Regions from separate parts of the Homo sapiens genome. Here region 2 is linked to region 1. Evidence: promoter capture Hi-C in human tissues and cell types (Jung and others, 2019). All regions are on one chromosome and are shown on one strand. The core of a region is centred on a gene start or on the middle of the fragment in contact, and the rest is flanking DNA. Distances in the headings are between cores, read along the strand shown. Region 1 holds the start of CPA6 (carboxypeptidase A6). Region 2 overlaps C8orf34 (chromosome 8 open reading frame 34).

Region 1 (6,561 bases), core at 1,319-3,818:
TCATGCTCAGGGTCCTGTAAATGATAATCACATATTATTAGATTCTACAAAGACCTACAAAAATATTTTTACATGAATGCAAGAACTAGGGCTGCCCCTTCATTAGTAGCAAAAAACAAATGAGAAAAATTATTAAGGAATAAAAATGAGGTGGCTCAGAATAACTTTGGATGGATGAAACCAGCCAAAAAAACTGCTAAATACTCTTCTACCATGTCTTCCCATCAGATTCTTGTTCACCGGAAGGCTAAACTTGCAGAAAGTAGTTTTGGAGTAAACAAAGCAAAACATTCTCAAAGCTGAGCAGCATTTCTGTCTTTTGCGATGAGAAAATGACATGTCTAATGAAGGTAGAATTCCCCATTTTTAACAGTGAATATGCTCAGAAATATTTTTGCTTTTAAAGAAGCTCTAGGCTTGTATTGCAATGGTTGAGTGAGACTCACTTCTTTTCATTCTCTCATCTTTTTCTTCCCTCCTACTCTTAGACATCTGGTAATTTATACACTTGGGATTAACTTATGTAGCAACTGAAGAGAAAATAGCAATTATTATGTCCATTGCTGAAAACAGAGAAGGTAATGAAACTTTTTCCTGAAGGGTTCCAGTCGCTACAAATTCTATACGAAAAGGGTGCCACCACTGGCCTCATTTCCTCTTCAAAGTGGTGCTTAGGGAAGGGTGCACACCTGCTCAGCTGAAGCAGGCCTGGTAACTTTTCACGGAGGAGTGCCACACGCTGAAATAATTATGCACAGAGCCACAGCTGAGTGGAGGAGTGAGGTCTTAGGTCATACACGTGTGTCTAAATCTGTGATCTATGTTTATCATCTGACCCGGCATCAGCCAGGAGAGTCAGAATTAAGTCCCCCACAACCCAAGCCTGCACCATCAGTCTTTAAACATGAGCTTCTTTTTTCCAGATCTCTAAAGGGGTCACAAATTATCGGAGGTAAAGTTGAGATCTTGTATGTCCAGGCCAAAAGGCAGCCCTGGGATGTTAACTCCTTTCCGTTCCTCCCAGAAATACTGGGGTGGAAAAATCCGTGATCATATTGCCATCTATAGCCCCTACCTCAGCCAACACCTCCATCTCATCCTGCCTCCCCTAAAACTGAGGACATGTTTCCAAAATTTCCTCTGTAAGCACTGTATTCAGAGGAACCCTAAAGGCAGTGCCAAGATTCTTTGGGAGAGAAAGAGAAATACAATTCTCTTTTCCAGGGTCACACTTACAAATTCTCTTTTACACTATTTCTAAAAAGAACAACTTGGTTTTAAGACACTGTACACTACCTTGTCATGATCCAGATCTACATGAAAACTTTTCTCAGGTGGTGATTATTGAATGATAGTAGCCTATTTAAAAATATGTAAGACACTGAGTTTACTCCTCTGTAAAAAGGAATTGAACTAGAGGAAGTATTTAAGGTTTTTCCAGATCTAAAGTGCAGGCAAGCCATAATTTCCAGATTCTAAGAACGACCCCCTGCATATGTGAGCAAATCACATGCTGTCTATACCACAGCAAGCCTTCAGGATAATAAGAATGTGCATAGTAACACACGGCTTCCAGCCCTCTGCCTCCTGAAGAAAGGCATATAGAAAGCATGCTTACCTACGGAGGGGGGACAAAACTGATTGTTTTACTCCTATGTTTTTCCTTCAGAAAAACTATCCATAATTTTACAGTTGACTACTTTTATTCTGCTTATTTTGAGTTGAATCATTTGCATTGCTCATATTTAAAAATCTAATAACCACTCTACAGACTAATAAGCACAGACAAAAAAAAAATCACACTCAGTTCTTAATCACTGATGAATTTCAACCCACCGCTCCTACATACAATTGTAAAGAAAGGCTTAGTTTTCAGGTCATAAATCATGTAGGACAACAGCATCCCCAAGCATCAACCAAGGCAAACACTGTAAATACTGACCATGGCTACTCCAAAGACAGAATCCCATTCAACCCTGGGTCCACAGCTAAGGTTGGCACATGATAAAAAGTATAAAAAGCCAGGTTGGAGCCCACCACATTCTCTCAGTGAGCTAAAGCCAAGAGCAGAGAGCTGTGAGTACATTTTATATAGAGGACCGTGAAAGTGTGCAGATTCACTCAGAGACCCCCAAATCAGAAAAAGTGAGGCACACTCTGGAGCAAACCAGCCCCCAGATCCAAATCAAAGCTGTGTAGGGCATGAATGTCGCTCCACTTACCCAGCATAGCGGTTGTTATAAAGGTGGCTGTGCCCCGGTTGCAGAATCTTCAAAAAGAGCCAGCAAAGAGGCAGGAAAGCAGCTGCCTGGCCCCTGCGCTTCCCGAGACACTTCATAGTGTTAAGAAGAGAGGAGTTGAAAGTTACTTAAGCAGCCACCCGAGGCTGGAGGTGGCTCACAGCACCCTCTACACACCGCACAGGTTCTCCGGGAAGGGGGTGGGCGAGGAAGGTTGAGAGTGAGCAAAATGTGACACTTCTCTCCAGCTACAAGGGAAAAAAAAAGTTCAGGCAGCTGAGGAAGGGAAGTTGCTATTACGACTTGGTCTTGGGACAAGCAGCAGCAGCAGCAGCAGCAGCTGAGCCTGATCTTTAATCAGGCTCCCCTAGAAAGGGCTGGGCCTCCCTCGTGCTGACTCACGGCAGGGGTTCACTGGGTGCTGCTTCCTTTGGGTGACTCCTCTCTGCTTTTGGTTTGTTTGCTTTCCCAACTTGAGGCCTCTAACTTTTCTGTGCAAGCTTTCTTTCTCTATCTTCTTCAGCATGAGGATCCTACCTAATTGCAAATGATTTGTCTGATGGGCTAAACAAGCAGACATGGATTATTCCAAGCTTAATGTTTTTTTGATCTCCCATGACAGATTCCTAAACGGATTCCACCTAATGAAATGCACAATGAACAATCATGATGAGAACGTGCACGGGGGTACCTATAGCACCCAGATCCGAACAGCTGGCTTCAGTTCACTGCTCCTGACTTACAGGAGTGGTCAGTGGCTTTATTGGGCTTCAGGGAGATCTTGGTACTCATTCTGCATCAGCAGCACCCAGACCTGCTGCTGTTTCAGAGGTTCTCGTGGGGAATAGGAGGCCTTCGAGTGCTTTGCCACCTTGGCTGTACATTTGGAATCATTTAGGGAGCCAGACCTTGAAAATAGAAACCGTGGTGGTGGGATCAGTGGTTTAAAAAGCTCCTTAGGTGATTCCAATATTCAACCACCATGCTGGTCTGGAGCAGGGCTTCTCAGAGCTCCACATGCATAGAAGTCACCTGGGGATCTCATTAAACTGCAGCTCTGACGTAGGTTGGAACAGGGGCCTAAGAGTTTTTATTTTTCTTTTTTGAGACAGAGTTTCGCTCTTGTTGCCCAGGCTGGATGGAGTGCCAAGTCCCCATCTCGGCTCACTGCAACCTCCGCCTCCCAGGTTCAAGCGATTCTCCTGCCTCAGCCTCCTGAGTAGCTCGGATTACAGGTGCCTACCACCACGCCCAGCTAATTTTTGTATTTTTAGTAGAGACGAGGTTTCCCCATGTCGGTCAGGCTGGTCTTGAACTCGTGACCTCAGGCAATCTGCTTGTCTCGGCCTTGCGAAGTGCTGGGATTACAGGTGTGAGCCACCACGCCTGGCCGAGTCTGCATTTCTAAAGAAGCTTCCAGGTGATGCTGGTGCCACTGGCTCTTCAGCCACACTTGGAGTAGCAAGACTTCACTTTAGAATGAGGTCTGCTTTTTCTTCCAAGCAAACCTTGGAGAAAACCATTTCCTTCTCTTTTTTCCCATGTTGATGATGAAAGCTTTTTAAAATTATTATTTGCATCCACTTGCTCCTATTCCAATACGCCACAAAACCCATTACAGGGGATGTGCCTCGCCCTATTAAATAAGCATAGGCACCTAGGGTGCCTCCTGTTACCTTTCATGCCCAGTCCTGGTTGTGCTCTAAAACAGAGAGTGAGCCACTATTTCCTCATCACACTCACAAAACTTTTCAGGCTTCCTGGAGAGTCATAGCCAAGAACTCCTGTACCCTCTAATACTATAGCCAGAGTCCCTGTTAGAAGAGAGAGCACCCAATCTTTCCCATCTTCTCTACCTGGGGAGTTGAACCAAAACTCCTTTGACAGATTCAATGTCAGGTTCATGAAACAGCTGAAATGGTTTTCATTTGAAATGATGCTCTGAATTTTTCTGCAACTTTCTCAGCATCAGTTTGGTTAATGCCTCCTCTGTGTCCCTCACAAATCCTGGCATGTCCTCTACTGTAGGAATTACCACATCAAATTTCTTGTCTGGTTTCCTCATGAGGCTGCTTTCTCCTTGAATACAGAACTGTATCCTTTTGGTCTTCCTGTGCACTTCCTTATACCTCCTCGAGGGAATACAATGTTTCCTGAAGGAGTGATCAACGATGTCTGTTGGATGAACGATGAACCAGGGAAGAAATTCATTTAACAAACATTAACATAGATGCTTCTGTGTCCAGATAGAGGAGAGAGCACCTTGGGAGCAGAGAACACTATGGGTGCTTTTGGAGAGTGGAAGTTCCCCGGGTGATCATGTCTGGTTTCGTTTCTTTTTTATGTTGCCTTCTTTCCTGACTTCCTGGCCTTGTACTTTTGTCTTCCTAAACTGGTCAGGCTGCTCTGCAAGACTCACAGCAGTACTCACAGGCCTTTTAGATGAGCCCAGGAAAGCCAATGATCTGTGGAAATAAGAGGTTACTGTGTAAATAAAACACTTCATCTCTTTGCATTTCGCTATGTCAGAACAATGTATAAATCTGTCATATTATATCACAACATTAAACTAGGAATGTTCAGTCTCTGACTGAGAATTAAACTCATCCTCAAATCATTCTGAAGGATTGGATCCCGCAAGCATGTTCGGCAGAGGCTCTCCAGACTCTGAGACCAAAGGAATCATTTCCTGGACCATCAAAAATGCCAGAAACTCCGGTGACATCCTGTAACCTTCCTAAAAATTTCAGATCAAAGAGAGGTTCTCAAACAATAGAAGCCATACCTAGCAATCATTCTCTGTTTTACTAAGGACCAGGTTATCTGATCAAACTTCTCTTGGAGTAGATAAGCTCCCATAAAATGAGAGATAAATGGAGTCCATTTAGCAAATGGGAGGAGGAGGGAACAGTTTTATAGATGAATTCAAAGATAAAAGTTCCATTTTTAAGGCACTGAGAGGGAGTGAATTATTAAACCAGCTAGGGATTTGGAGATGGGAAGATGAGAAGTTCTATTTATTGGCTATGCCTTTATCATAGTTTAGTGGAAGAGTGAACTTTATTAAAAGAAATATTACCATGCACAGAAAGAAATGAAACTACTTGGGAAAAGAAAATATCATCCTTGATTCGAGTCCATTGTTGATGATGAGATCATTTTTAATGTCTCTTCCAGAACTGAAATTCTATGATACCATGGAGGAAGATTTTGCAATTTCTTTCCTCAGGTATATGAGTGAGAGCTACATAGATTTACGTTGTTAAAGCTATCTGGAGAAGATAAACAGTGTGGTAGCACTTTCTTCAGACAAAAGTTGTACAGACATCCCTCCCGTTGCAGTTTGTGATCATTCCTCAACATGCTATTTGCATAGACCTTATCGCCTGTCACTTCTTTTTTATAGCGTTCTGCCACTATTCCAACAGGTAAGGAAACAGCAAATGTGAAGGTAGGCTACTGCCCCATGCGGTCTTGGCAAGTCTGTGAGGAATGTTCTGAAGCTTCCCTTAACAACACCTCACTGACGATTCCCTCCCAGCTGTCTTCAGCACCATCAGCTATCCTGTCTTGTTCCCGTGTCTTTAGTCTTTCTCTCATCAGCTAACCACAGTTCTTTCATCCTTAAACACAAGCCGCTTGGCTTCTTTTTTCTTTTTCGTTTCCCAGGCTTCTTCTTTTTTTTTTTTTTTTTTTTTTTTGAGACGGAGTCTTGCTCTGTCGCCCAGGCTGGAGTGCAGTGGTGCAATCTCGGCTCACTGCAAGCTCCGCCTTCTGGGTTCACGCCATTCTCCTGCCTCAGCCTCCTGAGTAGCTGGGACTACAGGCGCCCACCACCACGCCCGGATAATTTTTTGTATTTTTTGATAGAGACGGGGTTTCACCGTGTTAGCCAGGATGGTCTCGATCTGCTGGCCTCGTGATCTGCCCGCCTTGGCCTCCCAAAGTGCTGGGATTACAGGCGTGAGCCACAGCGCCTGGCCAGAAGTGCACTCTTGAACCTTGACCATGGCTTTGCCTCCCTACCACCCCGCTGAAACTTTCTCTCAAATATCAGCGGTGATTTCTAAGTGGAAAAATGTTTTGTTCTCACCCTACTCCACATCTGCATGGCTTCTGAGGCTGCTTGCCAGTTGCTGTTTGAAACTCTCTTCTCCCTTGGGCTCTGAGATATTGTCTTCTTCTGTTCCTGTCCTTCCTGGGGTTCCTCTCTAATTTCTGCCTGCTTAAATAGTAGACATTTTATGAGGCCTCTGCCTGCCTTCTTCTCTTCTTGATCCATTGCTGCAGATATGGTTTCTGGCTTTGTGACACTCAGTGC
Region 2 (6,861 bases), core at 2,079-4,578, 590 kb after region 1:
AGAGTCCTACAATTGCTTTGATTCTTTTTTCTGCCAAAAATGTTAACAAAGGCAATCCATGCAAGAGCGAAATAAAATTGATGGAACTACCAGATTTCTTTTCTTTGCCTTTAGTTTAATGATTATTGATTATACATAATCCTATATAATTTTTTTAAAGGCAGAAGCCTAAAACCTTCTGCAACGCAGTGTATTAATTGCATCGAAAGAATCATAAAATACATACATTTAGAGTGTGTGTTTTCTCTCTACTCTCCTGGAGTATAAAGTACAATTAGCCTGGGAGAATAAATGAATTGTTTTTAATAAATACTGTTTTAATTTGTTATCTTAAAATCCCCAAGATTTTAATAATAATAAAATTAGGAATATATGTAAACTTTCTGCAGAATTAGAAAATAAACTCAAATGGATATTTATGAAGTGCCCCCTAACCCCCACCTTTTGATGCTCACCAGCAAGTTATGCGCTGAAGAATTTTAAGTGATAGCAACGTGTCTCATAAAAGCTTTAGGTCCCCTCACCAAAAAACAAGCACCACCATGCTTCGTATTTTATTGAATACATATGACATACACTGGCATTAGCTTAGATTGCAGTGATGAGTAGTGCATTTTTTAAGGTTTGATGTCCACTTTAAATAATTGAAGGGAGAAAAATGGATAATAAATTCTCTTTTAATAAAAGCTGGATGTAACACAGTTCCTTATGCAACAATTTTGATCATGATAGAGCTTGACTTTGAGAGTACAATTATACGTATTTCACAAAATTGGAAGATTTTACTAGCGTGTAGCCTACTTGTTTCATGTTAGAAAACCAGTGCCACCTGTGAAATGGACATTGTTGACCTAGAGACCGTCCATTCTCTTCTAGGACCTTACTCAATAGTTTTCACAGGAATTGATTTGGGTCAGAGGAGGTGCCCAGCAATCTGAACATATTTAGAAGCAGCACAAATGTTTGCTACAATTTTAATTTCTGGGCCACATTTTGAGAAACTGAGCTAAAATCTCCTTTTACCACTCACAAATTGAAATTGGCCGCTTCATGTCTTGTCATCTATGCTTTGTTGTGTTGAGTCAGTGTAGCTGACACAGGCTTCTTTCAGTTTGGAAAATATGCGGTATCTGATAATATGTCCCCCTTGTGGATAGTTTAAGTTAGGAATGTTTTAAGAAAACTTAATTGGTATGAGATACTTTAAAGATAATCTATGAATGTTTTTTAAAACAATAGCAAAAAGTAACCTATTCACTGATATTGAGAATACTTGATCCTCTTTTTTACCTGTAGGGCTTATTTACCTAGTTTGTTCACTTAGTTTATTTCTTACTTAGTTTATTGCTAATATTTTATGATTTGAGATGCTTATTAAAGTGTTACATGCAGTATGGTGTTTCAAAATTTATTTTAAATTGAAATTAATTTTGTTTCCAGCTGACTCAGGTGAATAAATTTGTACTACTTTTAAATTTCATTGAAGATGTTTTGGAGCATTACAAAACTATGCCTAAAAATCATTGCATTAGAATTCTGGACAATGATATTCTGATTAGATAATATGAAGGTGTAAGATGAAAAATACATTTCACAAACTTTCTAATTTTTGTAAGATGTAATGGTTTACATCTTACAAGATAAATATTTGTAATATATATAAATATTATATATAGTGGAATATATATATTCCATGTATGTTTGTGTACACACACATTTTATATAAAGAAATAGAAACTTTTGAGTTTCTCCCATTATTGATTGGAAGAGTGCTCAGGGCAGTTATATATCTTGGTTCAGGCCTGATCACACTCACAAGAGTGTGAAATCTTAAGTTACTAAGAAGCCAAATAGTGGGGATCTTCATAAAATCACCATGGAATTTTTAAATTTGTGTACTGAAGATGTGGCAAACAAAAGTCACTACATTTCTCTAAGTATGGTATGACCCACTCCAAATAGAATGGAATCACTATCACCTTCTCTGTTCCACTCAAAGTGCTTCTACTCACATGGTGTAAATTTGCATTAACTGATTTGGCATATATGTTATAAAATGGACTTATCAAACTTATGATCAAAGCCTGCATCACTTATATATTTTGCTGTTGCCCAGCTTGCTCTTCTCTGGTACCCCACGGCACTTCTTCCAGCCATGTATGCAACCCTGAACTCCAATTTGCTGCCAACCCTCAGCAAGCCCATTATTTCACTTTATTGACCTCCCTGATCATATCTAAAAAATGCTCCTTGCGTTTATCAGAGAGCTGTAGTGTCTGCGGAGATCTCCTTTCGTTGTTCCCCCTCTCATAAGGATCACAGCCGTGGGCTACCTGTTATTTAATACATGAAAAGAAATATTTTTGTCTAATTTAGGCAGGCTTATGATTGTTTAGGGCAGTTGTTTGGGGATAAGAAGGATACTAGTTACTCACTTATGGCCAGAGGTAAAATACCCCTCCAGAAAGATATTTTAATGTTTAAAAATAATTTGTCGTTAATAAAGGTAAAAGTGTCATTTTAATAAAAATGATTAGGAAAATGCTTTTATTAGAGAAGTAATAAAATATAAGCTTGGTAGTTATAATATGTTCAACTTAAATATTGTAAATATATTTTTTGGAGTAATGATTGTCAGGTGATCTTCCCCAGTGCTCAAAGTTATGAAGACTTTTCCTATATCAAAATTTGCATTAATCTTTATAATCTCAGAGCATTTAGAGGAGGCAGAAGACAAAGCAGTTCCATTTTATAAAATTTTGCCTAGAGTCCAAGTTAAGTGTTGTCATTGACTTACTTCAAAACAGTTTTTTAAAATGTTACTTTAATTAACATGTTTCTATTACCAGCCCATTTATTTTTCATTTCTGCCTTAATGTATTTTATTTTCATGCAGCTTTTAAATAGCTTAATAAAGTGACCCAAAATTCAATTCAATAAATCACTATATAACCTTAGAAATAGTAATATGTACATATACCAATATGGCATCAATAAATTTGAAAAAAGAAATAATATTTTGGGCAGGCATGGTGGTTCATGCCTGTAGTCCCAGCACATTGGGAGGCTGAGGCAGCTGGATCACTTGAGGTCAGGAGTTTGAGACCAAAGACCAGCCTGGCCAACACAGTGAAACCACATCTCTACTAAAAATTCAAAAATTAACCAGGCATGGTGATGCACACCTGTAATCCCAGCTCCTCGGGAGGCTGAGGCAGGAGAATTGCTTGAACCCAGGAAGTGGAGGTTGCAGTGAGCCAAGATTATGCCATTGCACTCCAGCCTGGGCAACAGAGGGAGACCCCATTACAAAAAAAAGAAAAAAAATAGTATTTTAATATTTGTGGGTCTCTCTTAAGAGAATGTGATCAATGGAAATATGAGACTACAAAAATAACATAGGCTTTCCTCCCTTTTTTTTTTCATAATTCAATTAAGAAGCCATGAACCATACAAAGAGAACAGCTAAGACTACAGCTAAGACCCATATGACAAGGAGAGCTAAGTTGGGAGTTCACCTGGAAAGTATCAGAGCACAATTAAAGAAAGGGGCTGAGTGGGCAGTGGCCTGGCAGGGTCAGAAGATTTGTTACGTACAAGGTGGGGGCAGGGTATTCAGAAAATAATTAAATATATTGAAAAAATATATATTCAAGTCAGCCTTCTTACTGATGGACATAGGAGTCACAGAGATAGTATAGGGAAAGCTAGAATGAACCTTGTTGTGTTGGATTGAAATTGGAGGTGTTGGTGTGATCTCATGACTTTCAATAATAGAAACAGGTATAGATGTAATAGAAACAAATATAGATTTGTATGTATTTACATATACTTAAGTGCATATACCTACATTTACTTCCCAACTCTGTCTACTGGAAGGGCCTGGGAATAACAACATCCTGGTAGCAATGAGCACACCTAGCATCCACATTTTGGTTTCTAAATACCATTCTCCATTAAGTAGAACCAGGTGTCCTTGAAGAAATGGTTGATTCCAGGTTTGGGGCTAAGCAAGGTTTGGAGTATCATATGTCAAAAAGTAAGGAAGAGCTCAAAGAATAGTAGGTATGTATCAAAGGACACAGAGGATGTGCCTACCCCTAAGACAACTTGAGGGTCAAAATAAAGAATGATAGTAACAGATTATTTTACTGAATAAAATAGGAATATTTTACTTCACTGGGATCTAATGGAATGTGGAATGTGCTTAATTCATGGGGAGAAGAGAAAACTTTACCTTATAGTAGAATGCCAACTAATAAAAGTAGAAGGATGATGGAATTAGAAAATTACTACTTGGCAACCATCTGAAAGATAATTCAGGCAAGAAACATTAATCAGTACTAAAATTAATGGGTAAAAGTTGGATAAACAATAAGATGTTACATAATCTCTAAGTATCTTCCTACAAAATACTTGTAAATTATAAAGGGAAAAAGTGACTTTACAGTAAAGAAACCTGGCAGACACTACTTCGTTCAAGTGATGGGATAAAGCAATATTGTATGCCCATGATAGGATGCATTTAAAACAACACAGCATTGTTTTGTGATTTTCCTGACAATCATGTATAACCTGAACTGAATAATGAGAAAATATCTTATAAAGCTAATAGAGAAAATCTACAAAGTAACTTTTCTAGAGTTTTCAAAAATGTTAAAGTCATGAGGGTCAAGAGAGGCCTCAGACTGAAGGGACATGGCAACTAAGTGCAAAATATGGTTCTAGATATAATACTTCTGTTATGAAAGAGATTATTGGGAAAGTTGACAAAATTTGAATGTGGTCTCTATGTGAATGGAATAAGGAATTGTTTGTATTGTTCCTATACTTTTTCTATAATTTAAAATTACCTTAAAAGAAAAATTACTAAAAATAATTTTAAAGAGCACCTAGGGAATCAGTATTTGCAAAATAGTTCACCTATTGGGTTTCTTTAAACAGTAAATTATGTGAATGTAGTTCAGAATTTCATCAATGTTTATACGAGGAAATGGCTTATACAATAAATAGCTACAAATCTGAGTAAAGACAATTTGCAATTCTGGTTAACTAAGCATATGCATTTTCCTCTTCTCCCTCTCAAAATCATTTTGAAATATCTGAAAAAAATATTTAAACAATAAATGCACAAGAGTGCTGGAACATAAGAAAGAGTGCTGAGGGAGACACTTTCTCCTTTGTGTACAGAATTTCTTTATTACAAATGGTGGCATCTTCTTTGCACCTATATATAGTCAGTGACACAGAGTCAATGATGTGTTTTCTTAGTTTTTCTGCTGCTATTACACAATGCCTTTATTTCTCACAGATCTGGAGGCTGGGAAGTCCAAGATCATGGTGCTGGCATTTGGTCTGGTGAGGGCCCTCTTACTTTGTCCTCATATGGCAGAAGGCAGAAGGCAAGCTAGCCCAACACTGTATGAAGCCTCTTTTAAAAGGTCTCTAATCCCATTAATGAGGGAGCAGCTTTCTTGGTCTAATCATCACTTAAAGACCTCACTTATAAACCCCTTCAGATTGGCAACATATGAATTCTGAAGGGGCCACATTCAAACCACAGCATATGTAGTGAAAACGTTGTTTGGAATTTCCTGGAAATTACCTTAAAATGCATTGTCTCAGTTGGAACAGGCTCCTCATATGCCCTTCCTACTGTCTAGAAGCCTGTTTGTAACTCCTCTTCTCCTTACTCCTTCTGCATCTTCAGGCAATGACTGATCTCCTTTTTGTCACTATGGATTAGGTTTCATTTTTTAGAGTTTCATGTATATGAAATCACACACTATGCAAATTTTTTGGTATATCCTCTTTAACATCTTTAAGTTAATAATTATTAACCTAATTATTTTAATATTCATCCATGTTGCAGCATGTTACCAATTTTTATTTCCTTTTATTGCTGAGTTGTATTCCGTATGGCTATGTGCTTTCATTTTTCTTATGTAAATACCTGGAGTGGATTGACTGAACCATATGGTAGGTATATGTTAAATTTTTAAATAAACTAGTTATTAAAGTGGATGTACAATTCTACATTTCTGTGAACAGTGTATAGGAGTTCCAGTTGTTCCATATCCTCACCTAATCTTGGTATTGTCAGTCTTTTTAGCCAGAAACCCATTAGCCATTCTAATAGGTTTGTAATGATATCTCATTGTTATATTAATTTATACTTCTCTGATCTCTAATGCAATGAATTTTCTTTTCTTGTGATTATTTGCCTTCCGTATATCTTTGGTGATGTGTCTGTCCAAATATGTTGCCCATTTTTATTTGGGTTGTTTTGGGGGTTTAAGAATTATATGTTCTAGATCCTTTTCATTTTCATATAAATTTTAGGATCATTTTGTTAATTTTCATATAAAAATACCTGCTGGAATTTTGATTCAGATTGTGTTGAATTTATAGGTGCTGTTAGGCAGAATTGACATCTTAACAACTTTTAGTCTACGTAGAAAATTAGAGGGTATCTACAAAAAAGAGACAATAAATAATAAGTAAGTTTATTAAGGTTTTAGATGCAAGGTATCTTTTACAATTACCTGTTTATGTAATAGGTAATCAATTACATATTTATGTTCAAGCAAACAACCATCAGAAGTTAAAATAGTAAAAGTACCATTTATAATGGTATTAAAATATGAAATACTTAGGAATTAAATTTTAAAAAGATATGTAAGACCCCTACACTAAAAAGTATAAAAACTCTTAAAAAAAAGTTAAAGAATATCTAAATAAATGAAGAGTTGTATTCTTATTTATGCATAGGAAAACTCAATACTATTAATATGTTGAATTATATATGCTACCTGACTTCAACAGTCATTAAATCAGTTATAAGTAAAAGAAAAGGCAGTG

The links. The method cuts DNA at HindIII sites, captures the fragments that hold promoters and counts their contacts. A contact is called where the count stands out against the background at its distance.
Region 2: a contact is called between a fragment that was not itself captured here and the fragment with the promoter of CPA6 in region 1, in 4 of the 25 tissues and cell types used here (dorsolateral prefrontal cortex, spleen, stomach and 1 more).

The regions. Positions count from the first base shown.
Region 1 is chr8:67,743,792-67,750,352 of GRCh38, forward strand. It overlaps CPA6 (carboxypeptidase A6), which reads right to left and starts at 2,569. Exons shown (of 11, transcript NM_020361.5): 1 at 2,223-2,569. The coding sequence starts at 2,338. RefSeq lists an enhancer at 2,395-2,895. The HindIII fragment of the contact is 6,623 bases long and covers 1-3,243 here.
Region 2 is chr8:68,332,777-68,339,637 of GRCh38, forward strand. The region is part of intron 1 of C8orf34 (chromosome 8 open reading frame 34); the gene reads left to right. Among named protein-coding and RNA genes, the nearest start is that of C8orf34-AS1, 4.7 kb to the left of the region's middle. The HindIII fragment of the contact is 3,576 bases long and covers 1,541-5,116 here.